Linked DNA regions of Homo sapiens: all the other regions are linked to region 1. Evidence: promoter capture Hi-C in 16 types of primary human blood cells and fetal thymus (Javierre and others, 2016). All regions are on one chromosome and are shown on one strand. Each heading gives the region's core, a stretch centred on a gene start or on the middle of the fragment in contact. The rest is flanking DNA. Distances are from core to core; before and after follow the strand shown. Region 1 holds the start of ZNF324 (zinc finger protein 324). Region 2 holds the start of ZNF154 (zinc finger protein 154). Region 3 holds the start of ZNF417 (zinc finger protein 417).

Region 1 (5,107 bases), core at 1,578-4,077:
CAGGGACAGAGGCATGACCACAGGTTGGTCCTGAATTCACCCCACCCTGAGCTCCCTCTCACCAGGGTTGCGCCTCCTGTAGGTGGTCCTGGACAGGGTTGTGTCCGTTCCACTGGGAACCCAGGGCTCCTCGCCACGCTCCAGTTGGATGACCACACGAGGTCGAGAGGTGGAGAGTCCTGTGAGGAGGAGGTGCAGGTTAGAGTCCAGCCCCAGCTCAAGATAACCCACCTCCAAACAGAGGGCAGGAGTCAGGGCTTCACGGAAACAGAAAATGTCATCTGTGCAACTGCAGAATCTAAAGATGGCACAGGGCAAGGGGCTCACAGGAATAGCTCATTCATCCCCAGGGCAGCAACTGTGCCCAGGGCACCAAAGGAAGGGGACTGAGCCAAGGCTCGGAGAGGCCACAGCCGGACAGCGCCACAGGGAGTGGTTGAGCCAACCAGACTGCATGTCTATAGGACCAGACCCCTATTCCACATGGCTCCTGGCTGCAAGGTATAGGCCTGCTCGTCAGCCACCAGGGAGGTGAGGGGGCAGCCCTGGCCAGTCAGCTTGTTATCAGTTGCCCATTTCATGGAGTATCTAGGACCTTACCCAGCGAGGCCACAAGTGCGAAGTTGTCTAGCATCACGCGGCGGTACAGGGCCCTCTGGGCTGTGTCCAGGAGCCCCCACTCCTCCTGGGAGAAGTACACAGCCACATCCTCAAAGGCCATCTGGTCCTAAAAGAGCAGGGAGGAAGAGACAGCCATGGTCTAAGGCTGGGTTATCCAATCTTTTGGCTTCCCTGGGCCACATTGGAAGAAGAATTGTCTTGGGCAACACATAAAATACATTAACACTAATAACAGCTGATGAGCTAAAAAAAATAAAAATTGCATAAACATCTCATGTTTTAAGAAAGTTCACGAACTTGTTTTGGGCTGCATTCAAAGCCATCCTGGGCAGTGGGTTGGACAAGCTTAGTTTAAGGTATGGCTGTGAGCCAGGACCAAGCTCCCCATCCCAACAGCCACCTTCCATGATGTCCCTCAGACACTCACCCTCCTTCCCTGGGTTCTGCCCCCACCATCTTCAGATGGCACTTCCCTCACATGTCTGGGACCCCTCCCCTCTGCCCTCCCTGACCAGACCCCAGATGCCTTCTTGGCCTCCCCACTGGCAACGCCATACACAAGCAAGCTAGAACAAGTCCTGGCTGGGCCCTCAGCTGCCACACCAAGAGCAGCCCCAGGTGTCCACTCGTGACTCAGCATGACCACTCATGACCCTCCCCAGATGCACCCTTCCTGCTCTTGTAGCAAGAAACTGTGAGTCCCAGCAGGGGCTTCCCAGGCATACCCATCACTGGGACCCTCCCCTGCTGAGCCTGCTTGCCTGACATTTCCAGGCTGCTCATCCAGCCTGAGGGACTGGATGATTCTCACCAGTCGCCACAGGGGAGCAGCCTCAACAACCTGTGAACACAGAGGAACTCAATCCCTTCCTCCTTTCACCCGGTGTCCCCTTTCTTCCCCTCTCTGTTGCCACCCTCCCCTCCTCAGTTAGGTGCTAGGCTCTTCCCAATAGCCCCAGGCATCCCAGCTGGTCTTCTTTACCCTCAAGCCATAACTGCCCACACCTGGCTGAGTCCCTGCCCATTCCTCAGTCCAATTCATAGGCCCTGTCCACAGCCCAGGACGCCAACAACGTCAGGTCCAGTGACATGACCAACCTGGGACATCCCAGACTCTTGATCTTTCCCCTGAAGGAAACCTGCTTTCCTTTCAATTCTCCTTTCTATCTACAGCAGCTCTCTTCTTCCAGGCGCTCAGGCTGAACAACATGGGGTACTTAGTTCTTCAAACAGCCCACACCTGATGCATCCGCAGATCCACCAGAATTCACCTGGTCGCCCACCTCCACTGCTGCCCAGACTGTGGCAGTCGGTTCTTCCCTTCATGCCGACACCCCTGCATGTCTGTTCTCCACGCAACAAACGGTGGAACCGTTTTAAAGTCCTCAGAGGATGTCCTGATTCTGTTCAAAACTTCTATGTCTCCCGACGCCCTCGAGATAAAGCCCACTCCCTCGCCTGATACTGCAGCCGCACACATCCCCTCTACTCCAGCTCCACATCGAGAGAGCTCAGTCCCAGAAGCACCTGGGCTTCGGCTCCCCTCCCAGGTTTTGCACACGCAGGACTCTCCCCTCGGAGCCTCCTTCGGGACCTCAGCCCCCTGGCTGCCCGAACTCGGGAGCTCACCAGTGCCCTGGACGCAGGAGTTTGCACTGACCCCCGCAACCCCCCCAGGGCAGGGAGAGGAAAGACGACTAGGCGAGGTCTAGGAAGCGGCCTCCCTCCGTGAGGGCGCGGTCTGTGTGAGCAGGGACTCCCCTGCTTCCCCGACGCGGGCTTGTCAGCGCCACCGCCGCCAGCGGAACCCGCAGCTGGGAGGGAAGAAAGGCGTGGACCACCCAGCCTTTCCCCGCCAGCAGCGTCCCGGGGCCGCCCCGCGCCTCAGTCTCCCCGGCCATCATGGACGTGGAACGCCCAGCGCGCAGCCTCCTGGGCTGCCGCACGGTGGGAGAGCGCATGGCTCCCGCCGCGGCCCGACAGTCCCCTGGACGCCCACGACGCACTCTGAGAAACAGAGGCTTGGGGGCGCGGCCGGCGGCCGGCGCCCTTGATCACGACGCGTGCGCAGGGCGGGCCCGACGCGGGCCCTCAGCCAGTACCTTCCTCGCCGCCAGCCTCGAGCACCAGGAACCCCCTGGAAACCGGACCCGACCCGCGGTCCCCAGCCCAGACCACCGGTGTGGCCTGACGCGGGCGGCGAAGTGACAGTCCCACCGCCGGAAGTCCAGCCCTTCGGTTCTCATTGGCCCAGTGCGCGCCGCGGACGCTTGCGTACAGCCTTCCGGGTCACGTGGTTCCCGCCTGTTTCCCTGCGTGGAGGCGGGGCCACTACCGGTCTCCTTGGCAACGTCCAAGCCCCTGCCGCGCGGGGCGCTGGGAAATGGAGTCGCGCGGCGGCCTCGGGTTTTCAAGGGCTTGGTGGCGCTGGTGGATTCGCCCGGTGTGTAGTCCTGCCTTCGGCATTCCAGGTGTCCTCCCAAGCAGTCCCGGAGACTAAACCCTGCAGGTGCGAAAGCAGAAACTGCCGAGGTTCCAAGAGGCAACACCAGCAGTGAGCACGGAGGAGAAAATGCACCGGGTAGCGCAGGTGGAGGTGGAGGAGCCGATGCCTGGAGCTCCGGGTTCCCTTCCCAGCTCTGCCTCTCACTGACTGTGCGTCCTGGGCGCGGGTTTGACCTCTCTGTGTCAATGTCCCGTAAAGGTTTAAGGTCCGTTTTCAACCTTTACACCAAGAATTCTCAGCCCGTAAGCCTACATTTGTCTTAAGTATGAGACTGTTCCTCGACACTTGCCCAAAGCATCTGTTTTCCTTGTAATTTGGATGGGCAGAAGTTAATTCCCCAGATTTGCTTGTCCTTAGACCATCTAGATCTTGTCTTGCCCCACACATCACAATATTCATTCTTTTTTCCTTTTTTCTTGGGACTCATTTAAGTTTTTTTTTTTTTTTTTTAACAGGGTCTTTGTTCTGTTGCCCGTGCTGGAGTGCAGTGGCACAATCTCGGCTCACTGCAACCTCTGCCTTCAGGTTCAAGTGATCCCCCCGCCTCAGCCTCCGTAGTAGCTGGGACCACAGGTGTGCGCCACCATGCCTGGCTAATTTTTGTATTTTTTAGTAGAGATGGAGTTTCACCATGTTGGCCAGGCTGGTCTTGAACTCCTGACCTCAGGTGATCCGCCCACCTCGTTCTCCCAAAGTGCTGGGATTACAGGCCAATTTAAGTGTCTTTGACACATAAAAACGAAAGGCAGAGCAGTCTCAATGTAGACTGTCTTGTTTGGCAGATAATAAAAGGTTCTTTGTCTTGTTTTTGGAACCTGTAGACAGTTCTCAGCTGTCCAGTTCCTTAACTCTTTTTGCCTCCCTCCCTCTATACCTACCTCCATCTATAACTATCTCTCTGTCAACTGTCAGCTATAACTGTCCACCTAATTGATTCTACTTGTAAATCCTTGTAGAGCAAGGGAGCTCATCATGTTTGGAATGTTTTAATATAAATTTTGCTACTTTGAAAGAATTTAAGAACATTTCAGGACTGGGCGCAGTGGCTCACACCTGGAATCTGAGCACTTTGGGTGGCCAAGGTGAGCGATCACTGGAGCCTAGGAGTTTGAGACCAGCCTGAGCAACAAAATGTGACCCCATCTTTATAAAAAAATATAAAAATTAGCTGAGCATGGTCTTGCATGCCTGTAATACCAGCTACATGGGAGGCTGAGGTGGGAGGATTGAGTTCAGGAGTTGGAGTGTGCAGTGAGCTATGATGGAGCCCCTGCACTCCAGCCTGGGTAAGAGAGAGACCCTGTCTCAGGAAAAAACAAACAAAAACCCTGAGGGGGAAAAAAAAAACCCCAACACTTAGAAGTATTAAAGTTCAGGGCCGGGCGCGGTGGCTCACGCCTGTAATCCCAGCACTTTGGGAGGCCGAGGCGGGTGGATCATGAGGTCAGGAGATCGAGACCATCCTGGCTAACAAGGTGAAACCCCATCTCTACTAAAAATACAAAAAATTAGCCGGGCGCGGTGGCGGGCGCCTGTAGTCCCAGCTACTGGGGAGGCTGAGGCGGGAGAATGGCGTGAACCCGGGAAGCGGAGCTTGCAGTGAGCCGAGATTGCGCCACTGCAGTCCGCAGTCCGGCCTGGGCGACAGAGCGAGACTCCGTTTCAAAAAAAAAAAAAAAAAAAAAAGGAAGTATTAAAGTTCAAAAACCCTGAAGAAAAAAAACCCCAACACTTAGAACTATTCAAGCTGTGGCCGGGCGCTGTGGCTCACGCCGGTAATCCCAGCACTTTGGGAGGCCGAGGTGGGCGGATCTTGAGGTCAGGAGATCGAGACCATCCTGGCTAACACGGTGAAACCCAGTCTCTGCTAAAAAATACAAAAATAAAAGTAGCTGGGTGTGGTGGCGGGCGCCTGTAGTCCCAGCTACTCAGGAGGCTAAGGCAGGAGAATGGCATGAACCTGGGAGGTGGAGCTTGCAG
Region 2 (5,107 bases), core at 520-3,019, 760 kb after region 1:
AGTGCTATTTATTTTGCGGCTCCAAAACTTTATAACAAAGCAGCAGAGATTTCTCGGCCAGGCTCGGTGGCTCATGCCTGTAATCCCAGCACTTTGGGAAGCCGAGATGCGTGGATCACCTGAGGTCAGTGGTTCGAGACCAGCCTGGCCAACATGGTGAAACCCCGTCTCTTCTAAAAATACAAAAATTAGCTGGGTGTCATGGCGTGCGCCTGTAGTCCCAGCTACTTGGGAGGCTGAGGCAAGATAATCGCTTGAACCCAGGAGGTGGAGAGGTTGCAGTGAAACAAGACTGCGTCATTGCACTCCAGCCTGGGCAATAAGAGTGAAACTCCATCTCAAAAAAAAAGAAAAAAAAAAAAGAAGAGATTTCTCACCTATATACCCTGAGTGTCTCTGCAGCCAGCAAAGCAGATGAAGGCCTGCTGGGTTGGAGCCCTAGGCCCTCCAATGCTGAAATGCCCTGTGAAGTCTCCATCCATCCAGGCACTCTAGTAACCTGCTTCTTCTGCCTGGAATTTATTCTAAAAATACCCACATGGCTCATTTCTCACTTCCTTCAAGTGCATTTCACCGGCTTTCTGATTAAGAAGTCCCACCTCTCCCCTTTGTCTCTTATCAAAGTAGCATTTCTTTCATTGTTTTTTGAGATTGATGTTAGACTTCTAGAAGGAATATATCTCAGATATCAAGTAAGAATTATGAAATGGATAAAAGCGTTGCTCAGTGAATTGGACACAGTTATTGACTGGACACAGTAATTGGACACAATAATTGACTATGCAGGCAAAAGATGTTTTCTGTTGGAATCAGACAGAATTCTACCTTTGTACTACTGTTTCAAGGTGATCTAACATTTCTCTTCTATCTTCTAGAAGCACTATCATGCCACTATCTGAAGTAGTTTTTCACCTGTCCCTGACCAAAAGTGCACAGACTGACTTCAATGCTTCGGAGTGCATACATTTGAAATGTAATATGATAGAGGCTGGGTACGGTGGCTTACGCCTGTAATCCCAGCACTTTGAGAGGCCGAGGCGGGCAGATCACCTGGGGCCAGGAATTTGGGACCACCATAGTGAAACCCTGTCTCTACTGAAAATACAAAAAATTAGCCTGGCGTGGTGGCGCGCGCCTATAGTCCCAGCTACTTGGAAGGTTGAGGCACGAGAATCGATTAACCCGGGAGGCGGAGGTTGCAGTGATCCCAGATGGCGCCGCTGCACTCCAGCCTGGGGGACAGAGGGAAACTTTGTCTTAAAAAAAAAAAAAAAGGAATAAACTTATATGGTAATGTTTATTAGCTTCCCTACTAGTGGATATATTTCGTGTCTGAATGGCTCTATGGAATGATGTACATATTTGGATTGGCAGCCTTAGGGAGCGTCTGATAATAATTTTAGCCTCTGGGAGCCTGCTGAACTTTATGAAGTTTGAAATAATATTCCCCAAACACTTGGGTGATCAGTTGCAGATGGCACCTCTAATATGCTGTCTGATTACGACCCATTTAAGAAAGGGCGAAGTCCCTCCACTGCCCTAGGACTTGGATAAGCCATTTCTCATCGCCCAGCGCCCTGGAGCTTCGCTTTTACTCCAAGAGGTTGGTGCAAAGGGTCCCCGGCACCCACCTCGGGATCTATGAAAACTACATTACCTAGAATGCTCTGCGTTGAACGCCACGCTACTAAGCCAGTAAGAGCTCAGAAAACCGACTTTCCTTGAGAGTCACAAAAAGAAAGGACGGGACTTTTGGGGGGGCCTCTTCGTGGCGGCCATTTTAGCTTCTCTGAGGTGTGTTCACCGGATCAGAGATAGCAGAGCGCCGAGTTGGGGCCACGAAGGCGTGAGGGGAGTCGTCGTCCCTCCTGCACGAAAGCGTCTAAGCCTTGGCGACGCCGCCCTGGGGGACCCACGTCAGGCCTGGGATAGGGACCGCTGTCCCCGGGTCCCTACCAATGTCGCCCGTCGCTCCCGGCCCAGCTCTACCCGCAGAGTCTGATGGCAGCGGCCACTCTGAGGACGCCAACTCAGGTGAGTGCGGCGTCTTCCCGTCCTCACACACCTTCCCCCACCCACGTTCTAAAGCCATCAGTGAGGGGCGCCTGCTCGAGTCCCCGCTGCCCAGGGTCGGGGACACTGAGGCGTTCGTGGGTGGGGCCCTTTTTTTGACACTGCGTGTGACGAGGTGTGGGAGAGCGTGACAGGCGGAGGAACCGGCGCGTGCAAAGGTTGAGGCGCGACTGAGCCAGGAGAATTCGGAAAGCTGTTTTCTGCAGGGAACGAAGAATATGAGGCGGAGTTACTCCTAGGGTTGTACTGTCATTGTGAGGATGCTAGAAGCCACGGAGAGTTCTGAACAAAGGAGGGACGCCATTTATGTTAGTTTTTTTTTCTTTGAGACGGAGTTTCGCTCTTATCGCCCAGGCTGGAGTGCAATGACGCGATCTCGGGTCACTGCAACCTCCGACTCCCGGGTTCAAGCGATTCTCCTGCCTCAGCCTCCCCAGCAGCTGGGATTACAAGCCTGCAGCTGGGATTACAACGTCCGGCTAATTTTTTGTATTTTTAGTAGAGACGGGATTTCACCATTTTGGCCAGACTGGTCTGGAACTCCTGACAAGTGATCCTCCTGCCTCGGCCTCCCAAAGTGCTGGGATTACAGGCGTGAGCCACCGTGCCCGCCCTATGTTAGGGTTTAAAAACTTTTCCAAAGACTGTTCACAGGAAGAGCAGCGATGGGGCGATGAGGACATTGAGATAGTGGGAGGCTACATCTTTTTTTCATTGCCCTACAGTTGGCAAGAGGTGACAGCACTGAGACCAGAAAGTAAAACAGCCAGCCTGAGTTCAGGGCCAGGCAGGGCTACAGGGAGGCTTGAGCTCATCTAGCCTCACCAGGGATGCATTCCTCTTTCCCTGGTTCTCCCAGTTGTAGAAGGGCGTATGGAACTCACATAGGGAAGTGGAGAGTGTTCGGTCCCTCAGTAGCCTCTACCCCCATGTTCTTGGGATTGTGGTTTCCTAGTATTCTTAAGTGCTGTTACCCCAATCCTGGGTCTGGTGCCCTGGAGAAATTCCAAGCCCAGGGCTCTTAAGTCCATGCCAGAGGTTACAGGGGTTATACTGAGGTGTTCCCATTTTTGTCAGCCAGTGGAAACTTGTGAAAGGTTATCTCTGGCACTGGTATCAGGAGGCGCAAGTGCTTAGTAAAACTAAGCTGAGATTTTTGAGGAAACCATAGATCTGTTTCCTTTTAGCTGGGAACAAAGAGCAGGGGGAAGGAGTCAGGACTGCAGTGGCTGCCTGAGAAGTTGGGTACCTATTCTGGAGGTAATGAGAGATTTGGGTTACAAGAGGGAGGTGATCTTACCAAAGTCCTAACAGGGTCCATCCCGTTAGCGTGGAGAGCAGACTGTGGGGTTGAGGGAAGAGGAAAGAAGATCAGAGTGGAAGCTACAGCCAGTCCAGGGTAATGGACCAGAGTCATTGATTAGGAGATGTGTTGCATTCTGGATGCAAATTTTTAAAGGGAGCAACTAAATTTTCTGATGTAGACAGCGAGGGAGTGAAACAGGATTCAGCGATGACCCCATGGTTCTTCAACTGAGATGGAGAAGTTGGTATTAACAGTAATATTCACTGGAGACAACAGGAGCTTTATTTGGTCATGTAAGAGTTTGAGATGTTTCAGAGACATTAAGTAGGCATTAAGTAGGTGGCTGAACACCCAGGTCTGGAAATCTGGGGAGTGCTTCAGAATGGAGACATCCAAAATGTGGTGGTCATTGTGTGGACTAAGGTGAGTGAGCTGTGGATTACATTTAGAAGGGTTGTTCTATTTTTTTTTTTTTTTTTTGAGATGGAGTGTCTCTCTTGTTGCCCAGGCCAGAGTGCAATGGCGCGAGCTTGGCTCACCACAACCTCCGCCTCCCGGCTTCAAGCAATTCTCCTGCCTCAGCCTCCCGAGTAGCTGGGATTACAGGCATGCGCCACCACGCCCGGCTAATTTTGTATTTATTTAGTAGAGACAGGGTTTCTCCATGTTGGTCAGGCTAGTCTTGAACTCCCAACCTCAGGTGATCCACCCGCCTCAGCCACCCAGAGTTCTGGGATTACAGGCGTAAGCCACCGCATCCGGCCTACAAGGGTTAATCTTTAGGCATGGTGGTACAGGTTATTTGGCCAGGAAGGGCAGAATGGGGGCTAAGGACCAAGCCTTTTGGTTGGATAAGTGGGTGATATTCTTGGGCTTTCTAAACAGAGGTAAGGGAGGTTAGTGGCTATGGAGGTAGGGTGTTTGGAGAGGATAGTTGGGCAGGTGGCATACACTTTCAAGGGAAGAGTGGATATAAGGTGGATGCAGAGGCATAGGTGTATTTGAGGCAAATGGCTGTCCTTTTTTTCCTTTGTGCTTATTCAGCACTCTGTGGAATCACCAGGATTTTTTGATGACTTTGATGGGGCCTAGGGTGTTTATTCAACCTGGAGGATAAGGCCAGGTGCCAATGTGGTCATCTGTGACAGTCACTTGGCCTGGGGTAGGTGATCAGTGGAGCTAGTCTTTGAGTGTTAAGTGGACAGAGGAAGGTTGTTACTGCTGAGGGGCTAGCAAGTGCAGCACGGAAGTGGAATAGGGCCATGGGTATCTGAGATGCACATGTGGTTCTGTGTGGCCTAAATCTGAGGCAAAGAATGGAGCCAGCCAGGGAGCCCTCATAGGATTTGGGGCTGCTACCACTAGTGGATGCCCTGGGAGATCTAGGGTAGTATTAGATCCGTTTGAATCTGTCGAGCATACTCTGGACGCTGTGTGCTAAGTTATGGTGTAAAGTCTAAAATTAAGGCCCAGTATGACATCTGGTGAAATCAGGGTGGCATCAAATGGCCTGAGTACAAGTTTCCCTCCCTACTCTTCTCCCAAACAGACAACCCTTTTAATCAAGGAGACCAGGCACAATTTCTGCCTATCACTTTGTAGCAGATTTCAGCTCCCTACCAGGTCATGGAGTTTTCCAAACAAGCCCATTGTGGGAACCAGGGGGCAGTTGATCCTTTTGTTCTCAAAGTGCTTGCATCCCACAGTTTTTGGTTATTCACTTTTTTT
Region 3 (5,107 bases), core at 2,608-5,107, 550 kb after region 1:
GCATAATTTAATCTCTTGGACATTGGTGCTAACATTTCTCTGAGGTCCTAAGCTTTTTCACCATCTACTGATGTTTCCATAGACCCACTTCTGTCAAAACTGTTTAATAATTACCTAGTCAATGTTTTCTTGTTTTTTGCTTTTTATATTTTTGGGGGAGCGGGAGAGAGACGGAGTCTCGCTCTGTCGCCCAGGCTGTAGTGCAATTGCACGATCTAGGCTCACTACAACCTCTGCCTCCCGGGTTCAAGCAGTTCTTCTGTCTCAGCCTCCCAAGTAGCTGGGACTACAGGCACTTGCTACCACGCCTGGCTAATTTTTTTTTTGAGATGCCTAGGCTGGAGTGCAGTGGCGTGATCTCCGCTCACTCCAAGCTCCGTCTCCTGGATTCACGCGTTTCTCTTGCCTCAGCCTCCCCTGTAGCTGGGACTACAGGCACCTGCCACCAGGCCTGGCTAATTTTTTGTATTTTTAGTAGAGACGGGGTTTCACCGTCTTAGCCAGGATGGTCTCGATCTCCTGACCTTGTGATCTGCCCACCTCGGCCTCCCAAAGTGCTGGGATTACAGGCGTGAGCCACCACGCCCAGCCTACCTAGTCAGTATTAATAGGCTTTTGTATCTTGCAATTTACAACTGTTTCTCTTATGTAATATTAATTTTTCATGCAGAACACTCCCTCCTCTCAAATCAATGATAATCACTTCCCATCAATGACATGAACTCATGGCTTTTACAAATGCCCAGTATGAACAGATGGAGAGCACCAACTTTAAGTACTGTTTGAAATGCTTGTTCTTTAGTGCCGTAAAGAAATAGCACTTGACTTGGCCGGGCGCGGTGGCTCATGCCTATAATCCCAGCACTTTGGGAGGCCGAGGTGGGAGGATCACCTGAGGTCGGGAGTTCAAGACCAGCCTGACCAAGATGGAGAGACCCCATCTCTACTAAAAATACAAAATTAGCTGGGCATGGTGGCGCATGCCTATAATCCTAACTACTCAGGAGGCTGAGGCAGGAGAATCACTTGAACCTGGGAGACGGAGGTTGTGGTGAGCCAAGATCGCGCCATTGCTCTCCAGCCTGGGCAACAAGAGCGAAACTCCGTCTCAAAAAAAAAAAAAGAAAGAAAGAAATAGCATTGAACATAAATTTAATTTCCTCAGCAAGGCCATTTTTACTTTCTGCAGAAACGGTATACTCGCCAGCAGTTTTGCTGTGAGATTACACTGAACAAAGGAGACAGGGTCATTTATAACCTGCCTGACGCATCCACCTTACTGCTGTGTCCGGTTTCCACTGGCTAAATACAAATTCACATTCTGTATTTGTCCTGATTGACTAGCAACTTAGAACATTTTTAAAAGAGGCAAAGGCAAGAGGAAAACGAAGGAGGAATTAACTTATGGAATGCTAAGAAAGGCAAAAACACCTTCAAATAAGAGGAACAGGCTATGACAATGCTTGCTTGGACCAGTGTAAACATGCCAGGGCAAATATTTAGGCTAAATTGTGGGAGCTAAGAACATAAAGTACATGGATTTTTTTAATTACGGCTAGAAGATATTTAAGAATGTTAGCACAGGTCTTTGAATAAATTTTGCTTCTAAGAGAAGTTACTATTTATTCCTAATTAGATGGGAGGAAAGTCTTTGAAGAGGAACCTGTACTTTACTTTTTACAGACTGTAGCCATCACTACTACCAAGATACCATTTATTTTATTGTTTTTTGTTTCTTTGTTTGAGAGAGTCTCGCTCTGTCGCCAGGCTGCAGTGCAATGGCGCGATCTCAGCTCACAGCAACCTCTGCCTCCCGGGTTCAAGTGATTCTCCTGCCTTAGCCTCCCGAGTAGCTGGGACTACAGGCGTGTGCCACCACACCCGGCTAATTTTTTTTTTGTATTTTTAGTAGAGACGGGGTTTCACCATGTTAGCCAGGATGGTCTCGATCTCCTGAACTGGTGATCCGCCTGCCTCGGCCTCCCAAAGTGCGAGGATTACAGGCGTGAGCCACCGTGCCCAGCCTTATTGTTCTTTATAAGACTGATGTCAAATTACTAAAAGGAGTTGAATGTAAGTTAGAATATCAAGTAAAGGATACTAAGTGGGAAAAAGTGTTGTTCAATTAATTGAACGCTATAATGATTTGTGAACCCCCCAAATTTGAGACAGGTCTCAGTTAATTTAAATAGTTTATTTTGCTGGCCAGGTGTGGTGACTCATGCCTGTAACCCCAACACATTGGAGGGTGAGGCAGGCAGATCACGAGGGAGATCGAGACCATCCTAAACAAGGTGAAACCCCCGTCTGTACTGAAACTACAAAAATTGGCGTGATGCCACGTGCCTGTACTCCCAGCTACTCGGGAGGCTAAGGCAGGAGAATCACTTGAACCCGAGAGGCAGAGGTTGCAGTGAGCCGAGATCGCGCCACTGCACTCGAGCCTGACCAAAGAGCGAGACTCCGTCTCATAAAAGAAAAAGTTTATTTTGCCAAGGTTGAGGACACATGCCCGTGACACAGCCTCAGGAAGTCCTGACGACATGTGCCCATGGTGGTTGGGGTACAGGTTGGTTTTATACATTTTAGGGGGACATGAGACATCAGTGAATATATGTAAGAAGTACATTGGTTCCGACCAGAAAGGCGGGAACAACTCGAAGCAGGGAGGGGACTTCCAGGTCACAGGTAGACAGGTAGAGAGACAAATAGTTGGATTCTTTTTAATTTCTGATAAGTCCTTCCAAAGGAGGCAATCAGAATAGGCATCTATCTCAGTGAGGAGAGGGAAGACTTTGAATAGAATGGGAGGCAAGTTTGCCCTGAGCAGTTCCCAGATTGACTTTTCCCTTTAGCTTAGTAATTTTGAGGCCACAAGATTTTCCTTTCACAGATTCTATCAGCAGGAGAGTTGTTTTCTGTAGGAATCACAGAGATTCAGCTTTGCACTCCTGCTATAGGGGAGCACATCCCTAACTTCCTTCATTTGCCTTAGGCACTCTAAGGCTTCTGAGGGCCTTCAGACACATTATAACACAACAACGCTTATCAGCCTCTGCTTCCAGTGCAGGTATTTTGCGACTGAACGACTGTTTCAAACGGTGTGGTAATTTGGATTTTTAGCCTTTAGGAGAATCCTAAATAATAGTTTTAGCTTGAGCTCCCTATTATTTACCTTGCGCTCCCCGAAATCTGAAACAGTATTTTTCCAGATTCTTGAGTGATTAGTTACAGACACTAGTCTCCAGGAATCTCAATACGGCTTCTAAGGCTAGGTGAGACCCCTCCTCTGCCCTAGAAAGGCGCCTTTTTTTTTTTTTTTTTTTTTTTTTTTTTTTTTTTTTTTGAGACAGAGTCTTGCTCTGTCGCGCAGGCTGGAGGGCAGTGGCGCGATCCCAGCTCACTGCAAGCTCTGCCTCCCAGGTTCACGCCATTCTCCTCCAGCCTCAGCCTCCAGAGTAGCTGTGACTGTAGGCGCCCGCCACCACACCCAGCTAACTTTTTTTTTTTTTGAATTTTTAGTAGACACGGGGTTTCACCGTGTTAGCCAGGATGGTCTCCATCTCCTGACCTCGTGATCCGCCCACCTCCGCCTTCCAAAGTGCTGAGATTACAGGCTTGAGCCACTGCGCCCGGCCAGAAGGGTGCGCTTTTTAAGGAGAACCCCTGACCTGATGGCGGGCTTTTCCTGCAGATGGACTCTGGGTATCGCTCTTTTTAGCGCCATGGAAAGTGGGGAACTACATTACCCAGAAAGCTCTGCGTTAAACGACAGCCGGTCAGAGCCAATGAGCACTCGGAAAGAAGGCATTTCCACGTGTGCACGTAACGTAAGGCTGAGACTTCCGGGGTCTCTAGTAGCGGCTGTGTATCGGTGACGCGGGTGTTTCCCCAGTTTGTGGCCCCTGAGTGCTGGGGGGGGACCGCGGTGACTGAACCTAGAAGGTGGAGAGGAATCGTCCTCGGTGCCCAGAGGCGGCTCTGCAGCCCCGTGACGGCGACCACTGCTCCCGGGCCGTGCTTCCCCAAGTAGTCCGATGGCAGCGGCTGCGCCGAGGCGCCCGACTCAGGTAATTGTGGCGCCTTCTGTGCCCTCAGGTCACCCCATCGTCACCCAGGTCCTAAACCAGCGAGGGAGCGGCTCCTGCTCACGGGTCTGTAGCCGGTACCCGGCGTAGGAACACTGAGGCGCTCGCAGGAGGGGTCCCTGTGTAACTGTCCAGTGGGGGTCCCTGTGTAACTGTCCAGTGGGTTCACCTTGCCAGCTGCCTAGACAGAGCCGATTTATGAAGACTGGAGAATTGCGATGGAGAAATAGTAATTGACGCAGAGCCGTCAGGCTGTTCTGGAGACAGGAGTTTTATTATTACTCAAATCAGTCTCCATTAGCATTCCGGGATCAGAGTTTTCAACATTAATTTGGCGGTAAGGGTTGGGACCTGAGATGGATTCATAGAGGGTTAAAGTGAGTTTTTCATGCTGTTTTCTGTTCTGGGTGGGATGGCAGAACTGATTGACCCAGATTACCGGTCTGTGTGTTGTCAGCTGATCCATCCAGTGCAGGATCTGCAAAATACCTCAAGCACTGATCTTAGGTTTTACAATAGTGATTTATCTTCAGGAGCAACTTGGGGAGGTTCAGACTCTTGGAGTCAGAAGCTGCATGACCCCTAAACGGTAATTTCTAACCTTGTAGCTAATTCGTTAGTCCTGCAAAGGCAGGCTGTTCTCCAGGCAAGAAGGGGGTCTTTTCAGGAAAGGGCTATTATCAATTTTGTTTCAGAGTGAAACCATGAACTGAATTCCTTCCCTAAGTTAATTCAGCCTATACCCAGGAATGAACAAGGACAGCTGAAAGGTTGGAAGCAAGACGGAGTCAGTAAGGTCTGATTTCTTTCACTGTCATAATTTCCTCAGTTATAATTTTGCAAAGACGGTTTCACCTGTTTCTGACACCCGTGGGATGCGGTGGGGAGAGCAACAAGCACAGGGAGGGGCGCAGGCAATGGCCTGGAGATGGACGGAGCCGGGAGGATGGAACCTGTCTGGAACAAAGTGTGAGGTGGAGCTCTCCCTGGAAGAGTAAGCAGGCCGAGGGCTGTGCATT

What was found. Contacts are between HindIII fragments. The CHiCAGO score rates a contact against its expected background, and 5 or more counts as called.
Region 2: a contact is called between the fragment with the promoter of ZNF154 here and the fragment with the promoter of ZNF324 in region 1, in 4 of 17 cell types (neutrophils, fetal thymus, total CD4 T cells and 1 more). The highest score is 9.9, in neutrophils.
Region 3: a contact is called between the fragment with the promoter of ZNF417 here and the fragment with the promoter of ZNF324 in region 1, in 3 of 17 cell types (naive CD8 T cells, neutrophils and fetal thymus). The highest score is 6.9, in naive CD8 T cells.

The regions. Positions count from the first base shown.
Region 1 is chr19:58,464,800-58,469,906 of GRCh38, reverse strand. ZNF324 (zinc finger protein 324) reads right to left here and starts at 2,827. Exons shown (of 4, transcript NM_014347.3): 1 at 2,724-2,827; 2 at 601-727; 3 at 63-179. The coding sequence starts at 721. RefSeq lists enhancers at 1,327-1,446, 1,865-2,479, 2,480-3,096 and silencers at 2,578-2,707, 2,788-2,837. The HindIII fragment of the contact is 6,014 bases long and covers 969-5,107 here.
Region 2 is chr19:57,705,866-57,710,972 of GRCh38, reverse strand. ZNF154 (zinc finger protein 154) reads left to right here and starts at 1,769. Exons shown (of 3, transcript NM_001085384.3): 1 at 1,769-2,034. The coding sequence starts at 2,002. RefSeq lists enhancers at 1,589-1,648, 1,669-1,798, 1,542-2,181. The HindIII fragment of the contact is 9,236 bases long and covers 1-5,107 here.
Region 3 is chr19:57,915,342-57,920,448 of GRCh38, reverse strand. ZNF417 (zinc finger protein 417) reads left to right here and starts at 3,857. Exons shown (of 3, transcript NM_152475.3): 1 at 3,857-4,070. The coding sequence starts at 4,038. RefSeq lists enhancers at 3,481-3,540, 2,937-3,792, 3,811-4,100. The HindIII fragment of the contact is 13,199 bases long and covers 55-5,107 here.